Linked DNA regions of Homo sapiens: region 2 is linked to region 1. Evidence: promoter capture Hi-C in 16 types of primary human blood cells and fetal thymus (Javierre and others, 2016). All regions are on one chromosome and are shown on one strand. The core of a region is centred on a gene start or on the middle of the fragment in contact, and the rest is flanking DNA. Distances in the headings are between cores, read along the strand shown. Region 1 holds the start of OR6B3 (olfactory receptor family 6 subfamily B member 3). Region 2 has its middle 28 kb from the start of MIR4440.

Region 1 (3,610 bases), core at 729-3,228:
TTACAAAATAGCAAATTCCTGATACGAAAGCCTGATGAAGATTTCAGGGAAGAAAAACTATGTATCGATTATTTTTTTCTTTTTTACTATACTTAAAAAACTCAAATAAAATGTCAGCAATTAGGACCCAGCAGCACTTTAAAAGAGCTCACGTGGCACTAGCGTGATTATTTCAGCGGTGCAAAGAGACTTCGAGGTTAGCAAATCTGCTGAAAGGATCACATTTGAAGTCTAGCTAATGCTAAAAGGCTTTGATTAAAAACTCTCCCAAAACTTTCATGCATCTGTCATCCCCAAAGAAGTGATTTTTCCTAACATGATAAATAATACCAGCCTCAACCAACAGCCTACAGCATCCCCACAGCTAAATACCAGGATCATTCCTGCTCCACCAAGGTCAGGATTAAGACAGGGCTCTTTGTTGTAACTACTGCTACGTAACAATGTGCCATTGTACTAGCTACCACAGAACAGAATAAAGAAGTAGACAAAATTATCATTATTTCCAGATGGCAGGACTTTTAAGCTGAAAAATCTGCTACACTATTATAATTAAGGGATTTCAAAATGAATATCAAAAATGTAGTCTTCCTGTATACCAACAATGACTAATTAGAATATTCTTAGATTCAAAAAAGTATATTGTAAAAATGTCAGTATCTCCAAATCAATTTTGAAATTTAACTCAATTCTATTTGAAATCTCACCAAATTATATTTTTCTTGAAACAGGATGAAATAATTCTTGAAATCATCTGGAAATATAAACAGATGAGAATAGCTAAAATAATTCAGGAAGAAGAAAAGAGAAGCAGGTTAATGAAGAGGCGTTTCTATTTTGGATAGAAAAACTACAATAAAAATAAAATAATAATTTAATAAAATAAATACTAAAGATAACGAGCACCACCATAAAGTCAATGGAACAGCATAGAGAAAGTATAGAAAGCCCTACATCAGAGCTGAGGATTTCTGTGATACTATTAGCAAGGAAAGCCTGGATTGTGTTAAACATGATGTCAGGATAGTTCATTAAACCCATGCTAAAAACCAACCGGGTCTGTTCTTCATATGTTACATCAGAAAGTGCATTTCAGATGGACAGAGCCTGCGATGCCTGCCGGTCCTCCAGCCTCTCCTAAGCTGCTGTTCTGTGGACACGACAGGGTAGAGCCCAAGCTGGAAGCCCGTGGGCCCGACACGCATAGCCTGCTCGTTGATTTCCTTTCAGCACTGATTTTTAAAGAATAATCCAATTAAAGATTATTTGTGACTTTTCTTTTTTTTTGAGACAGAGTCTCACTCTGTTGCCCAGGCTGGAGTGCAGTGGCATGATCTCGGCTCACCGCAACCTCCGCCTGCTGGGTTCAAGCGATTCTCCCACCTCAGCCTCCCGTGTAGCTGGGATTACAGGTGCCCAGCTCATTTTTGTGTCTGTTTTAGTAGAGACGGGATTTCGCCATGTTGGCCAGGCTGGTCTCGAACTCTTGACTTCCGGTGATCCGCCCACCTCAGCCTGCCAAAGTGCTGGAATTACAGGCATGAGCCACCGCTTCTTAAACATAAATAGGGAGACAGATTTTATGGTGGGGCAGACCGAGAATTCCAGTGGCTTCTGAGCACCTCTCAAGCCAGTTCCTCACACGCCTGTATATTGGGTATATTGGGATGTCATTTATCCTGCACGTTTCAGAAGGACAATTCTCTAAAACTTTCACTTTGACCTTTGTTTTTGAAAATCAGAACATTTCACACAGAGGCACCAATATCTGGTTTCTTTTGAAAAGCTGGAAGATCTGAGGCAACACCGTTCAAGGTCCTGCACTCACAATGCACCCTGTGGACAGTGCAAGATGCACCCTGCTCGCAGCATGGCCCCTCTCTCTGGGAGCACCTGCCCCGTCTGCCCACTGCTTACCTGATTGCAGCTGCAGGGCAGGGCGCGAGGCAGGCAATGATGTGTCTCTGCTCCTACTCAGATACCTCTGGGTCCCCATGTCCCCTGTCTTCTTGGGGTGCACATTCCCACGAATGCCTCTGATGAGGTCTCTTCCTCCCATACATAAAGACTCACAGGCAGTTATACTCCCTCCTCCCACTGCCATGCGGCTTCTGTCGCTGTGCACCTCGGGGACTAGCTGTCCCCAGAAGCCAGCGACGTTCTGCTCATTTCTGGGCCCACATTTTGGCTCTTGTTCTGCTCCCCTTTCCTTCAGTGTCTGGCGCTGTGGCCCCAGCCTTCCGTCCCCACCGTCCACACTCAGAACAATGTACCCGCCCCTGCGGTTCCTGTAGTCACTTCCAGCTGACGACTCCCAGGCTGCCCCGATCCCTCTGCAGAACTAACTCCTGTGTCCAGCCAATGACTCAAGACCTCCCCTGGCCATGGAGCCCCTGCCCCTGTGCTCTTCCTCTCAGGGAGTGGTGCGGCTGCCCACGCCCCCCGGATGCCCCACTGAGCTCCCGTGTGGACCCTTCCCCTCCCCTCCCTCCACACCCGAGCACGCCTGAGTCCTTCTGCCCCACATCTTAAATGCCTCCAGAATCAGGTCTGCTGTCTCCACGTTCATGGGCTGCCATCCACCCTGTCCTTGTTCAGGTTCCGTCCCTCCCAGGCTGGATTATTGTCACCGCTCTCTCACTGGTCTTCCTCCAGTCTCTCCTGACTCTGTCTGATCCATCATCCCAGTAGCAGGGAATGACATTCAGGGAATGACACGCAGACCTCTCTCCTGGCCACGTCCATTGCATGTTCTTAGCATAAGCCCCTTGCTCCTGAGTCAGCCTCTCTATGGCCTCACTGCCTCTCTTGCTCCTGCCCCTCCTGGAATCCCTGGCTGCTGCAGGAGGCACCTCTTCAGTGCCATGAGAGCACCGTGCTGATTCAGTCCCCACTGCTGCCCTGCCAGTTGCCCTTCAGGACTTGCCTCAGACGTAGCTTCTTCCTGATGGGCTCACTTGAGCTCCCGATGCTACTGTTAGCTGCTCCCAGAGATGAGGAATTTCAGGGTGCCTCCAGGCTTCTGCTTTCATTAGGGTTTCCCTGCAGAGGGGGAAAGTGCACTTGAGGAGAGAGAGGAAGATGAGGGGCTTAGTTTGGGGCATGCTGGGCTTGCAGCGCCTATGGGACACCCTGTAGAGAGCTCCAGGAGTACCCCTGACATCCAGAACGCCCACCAGAGACTGAGGTCAGATGTCAAGATGTGTAGGGGGTCGGTCCAAGGTTTATTAAGTGTCTAATATGTGCCAGTCATTGTTTCAGGCAATTGAGATAAATCAGGAGAAAAAAACAGTCCCAAACTCTTGCCTTCATGAAATGTAAATTCTAGTGAAGGCAGGAAATAAGTCAGAAAAATAAATAATACCCATGATATGTAAGGAAATTATTTAGAGTGTGGAAGGTGGTGAGTGGATGGGAACAGAAGGTCAGGGTGGGCTGGGGGGTGGTGGTGGGGATGTGCCAGAGAGGAGGCGACACCAGGGCAGAGTCTCAAAGAAGATGTGAGTTAGCCTGTGGCTGTCTGTCGGACACACGTAGGTGGAGAGAAAATGAGGTGCAAAGGCTGCAGGCTGGGGAGTGCAAGAAGGGGGTCAGGGGGTTGGGGCAAGGC
Region 2 (3,899 bases), core at 381-2,880, 1.0 Mb before region 1:
GCCTCCCCGGCCACCTCTGTGTCTCTTGAGGCGGAGGAAGCCTTTCCTCCTCCTCCCCGTATGCTGCTGATGGGAGATGAGTGTCTGGGGGAGGGAGGCTTAGAAGGGAGGCCCCACTGACCTTCAGGCTCACAGGATGAAGGGGAGGTCACCAGGTGGGGAAAGGTATTCCAGGCGGGGGAACAGCCTGTGCAAAGGCCTGGAGGCAGGAACTGGTTTGTGCCTTCAAGGAGCCCAGCCGGCAGGATGGAGCTGGCTTTCCCATGCTGGCGGTCAGCGTGATGCTGGTCTCCAAGACAGCCGTGGGCCCACTTGTGTGAAGCATGTGTTCTGTGTCTGCGTGGGCTGAGGAGAGCTGAACAGATGCCAGTCGGATTCTCTTTTGAGGGCAGAAGGCGCGAGGCAGGACTCTCAGTTCGGTGGCAGTGGGCATATGGGTGTGGGAGACCGTTTCTGCCAGGATCTGTAGGGGAATGCAGGAGCCCAGGGCAGAGGAGTTGGGAGGGCTGGCAGAGGCAGGGGGAGCTGGGCGAGGTGAAGCCCGGAGTGACACAAGATGCCCAGTCTTTCAACGCCCCATCCTCCTTGGTCCCAGCCACAGGGGGTTTCTGTCCTTGCAAATGAAGAAGCTTGACTGAGCTGAGAGCTCATAATTCTGCTCTTTTGTCCAAGATGTGCACTTCTCATGTTTTCACCTTTCTAAAATTTATCTTAGAATTTGTGGCACCAAAAGGACGGGGGTGTCCTCTGCTCCCCTCTCTCATGGTGCAGTTTTGGTCTTCCAGCAGGCGGCTCTGAGACCCCGGGTTCGCTGGGGGTGCCGGTGAGCTCCTCCCATGCGAAGGAAGGGAGGTGGCAGAGCCGGGCAGAGGGAGGTGCTGAGCCGTGACACGGTCTCAACAGAGGCCTCAGCCGGCCCCATGGACTCAGCCCTGCCCTGCATGACAGTGAGGGCCTGGCCTCTGTAATCCCACGTGGACTGCTCCTAAAGTGTGGGCTACCCCGAAGGCACCCCTCTCTCTCCAGCTGAGGGTGGTTTCTGGAAAGGGGTGGAGGCTGAGTCCGAGGCTGAGCTGGGAAGTAGAAAGTGGCCTCAGTCTGGCAGGGGCGCTGGGGGTGCATCTCAGTGGCCCCCGGGGGCTCCCCTAAGACTGCTGTTAACTATCTTCCAAACAAGGACTTTGTAGAACAAAGCACGCATTGTGGCGTCCATAACAACAGTGACAATAGCCATTTGTGGCCAGAAACTGAACTTAGTGCCTTTATACTCATTGCCTGATGCCATTCTCAGGACAGTCCCATCTGGAAGAGTGGCAGGTCAGGTGAGGTGGTTCAGCCCGCGTCACCCTCATGCCTGGGGCCTGGCATTCTTACTGTAAATGACTGGAGGCTCCAAGTGGCTTTACTGACTCTCTGGTGGCAAGGGCTGCCCTGGCCGGCCTGGCCAGACAGACACAGCCCCCAGGGAGAGAGATGCTTTGCCCACCTGACTAAGGCCAAGGCCTCCTCTGGGTGTGTTCTGCACATGGGGGAATGGGGACCGGATGTCCTTTGGGATGGGGGGTGAGGGAGCTCAGAGGAATGTGCTAGAAAATACTGTCCCTGCATTTTACCTTTTTCTTTGGGGCAGCTATTGATTCCTTGAGGAAACCGTGTTCTGTGGCCGAGGCAGGGAGGGCAGCTTTAAAGTCGATTCTCAGGAATGTGAATACCATGAATTAAGGGTGGTGTGTACTCCTGACGTCAGAAAAGGGGAAACCTAGGGATCCACAGTCTAGATCTGGAAGAGGATGCTCGAAAATTTCAGCCCCTGTCCCCGCAGACTCCTCGGAAGGCATGGCTGGGTTTTTGTTTGCTTTTCCCTCACACTGTCTTAACACAGGCAGGGTCCACGGGTGGCCGGCCCTCTGTGAGTCTCGCCTCCCAGGGCGGCCTTGGTCAGTCGCCCGCCGCAGACGCTGCCCACTCACCCAGCACCTAAGTACCATCCAGTTCCCAGCTGTTAAATATTCCCAGGTGTTTCCAGTTGTTCATTCAATAATGCTGAAATGAGCGTCTTTGGACACAAGAGGTTTTCCGTAACTAGGTTTGTGTCCTGGGCACAGGTGCCCAGAAGTGTAATCAGGTCCGGGCACAGCCGTTTGCAAGGCTCTGAAGGGCTCTGCAGCCTCTCGTGGTGACGGTCCCCCAGCCATGGTGCTGAGGGCCGTTCGTGTCCACACACCCTCCCCAGCATTTAACGGGATAGATTGTTGAAATATATACAGGCCCCAAATCGTTTTTCTCTTTTACTTTTGCTTGCAATTTTTATTTTGTTTATTTTTTGAGACAGGGTCTCACTCTGTCACCCAGGCTGGAGTGCAGTGGCATGATCACAGCTCACTGAAGCCTCGACTTTCTGGGCTCAAGCGATCCTCCCACCTCAGTCTCCTGAGTAGCTGGGACCACGGGTGTGCACCACCATGCCCGGCTCATTTTTTAAAAAAATTTTTTGTAAGAGTGTCACCATGTTGCCCAGGATGGTCTTGAACTCCTGGACTGAAGCAATCCTCCCGGTTTGGCCTCCCAAAGTACTGGATTATAGGCGTGAGCCACTGTACCCGGCTACTTGTAATTTTAAGAACTACAGACAAAGCTTGTTAGTTTTCTGTATGTTTATCACACAGTTGTGTCTCATCTTTTGGGATTTGTCCATGGTTTTTAAAAAATTTCTACGATCATTGCACAGATTGTCAACACTGGCCCTGGCTGTCTTGGTTTGGTACGTTCCATTCATTGAGACTGGGGTTATTAAATCGCCCTAGAAGTTTTCACATTTCTATTTAGTCACATTTATCAATGTTAAGTCAACCACCCTCCCCGCCTCCACCAGCCTCAGGGCACCCACTCCCACCAGTGTCATGGCAACCTGGGAAGGTTTACATTTGAGTCATGTCGACGCCAGGCCCCACACGTGAGCACTCACCGAAGGTAGTGGCAAGACTGCCACTGTCACCATATGGGCCCTGTGTTGGGTCTGTCACTAGCCTCTCATCTCCGGGTGTAGTGATTCCGGAGGGTGCTCTCTGCTAGAAAAAAATACATCCCATTTTAATCACTCCATCAATCTTGATTTTAAACATTTTCCTGAAAGCTGTCTGGGTGGGATAGTAGGAAGCCGACAGGCTCATGAGGACGTTCTCACTCAAACAGGTTGCAGGTGTAGGGGCTCAAATCTGTTTACAAAGTCAACTTCTGTGTGTGCTTTAAAGAGAATCGAATGGGCCCCTCATTTTCCTTGGAAATACACTTTTCATGGCAAAAGAATGCCTTTGGCCATGTTCCTTTTCAAAATCAGTGTGCCTTGCTGTTTGGATGTGAGGAGTTTGTTAGCCCCGAATCGTATGTTCCTTCTTCATGACTGTCACTGGCAGTGGGGAGCCACCCTCCAGTGCACGCAGAGCTTACACTTTGCATGAAGACACGTCTTCCTAAAACAGACGATATAACAAACCTATTTTCCTGTCGCAGCTTTTTTGATTTGCATGGTTCTTGGGACTACTGGAACAAACTTCCTAGTATCATGGGAACCTCCTCCACCTGCCCACCAAACTTGGCTTTGACTAAAACTCGGTTTTGTGATGGTACAATACAGAGGAAGTCTAGATTTAGAATGAATTTCCTGGTAACTGGTTTGTGAATAGAATATGGTTTGCGTCTGTGCCCCTGCCAAATCTCACATTGAATTGTCATCTCCAGTGTTGGAGCTGGGACCTGGTGGGAGGTGATCAGATCACGGGGGCCGAGTTCCGTGAATGGCTTAGCTCCATCCCCGCTCGGTACTGTGGAGTGAATGAATGAGCTCTCATGGATCTGGCTGTTTCAAAGTGTGTGGCCCCTTTCCCATCTCTTGCTCCTGC

Evidence for each region. The method cuts DNA at HindIII sites, captures the fragments that hold promoters and counts their contacts. A CHiCAGO score of 5 or more calls a contact.
Region 2: a fragment that was not itself captured here is called in contact with the fragment with the promoter of OR6B3 in region 1 in 7 of 17 cell types (M0 macrophages, M1 macrophages, naive B cells and 4 more); the score reaches 10.5 in M0 macrophages.

Annotation. Positions count from the first base shown.
Region 1 is chr2:240,051,543-240,055,152 of GRCh38, forward strand. It overlaps OR6B3 (olfactory receptor family 6 subfamily B member 3), which reads right to left and starts at 1,979. Exons shown (of 3, transcript NM_173351.2): 1 at 1,918-1,979. RefSeq lists an enhancer at 3,291-3,610. The HindIII fragment of the contact is 11,088 bases long and covers 1-3,610 here.
Region 2 is chr2:239,039,333-239,043,231 of GRCh38, forward strand. No RefSeq gene overlaps it. Among named protein-coding and RNA genes, the nearest start is that of MIR4440, 28 kb to the right of the region's middle. The HindIII fragment of the contact is 2,006 bases long and covers 628-2,633 here.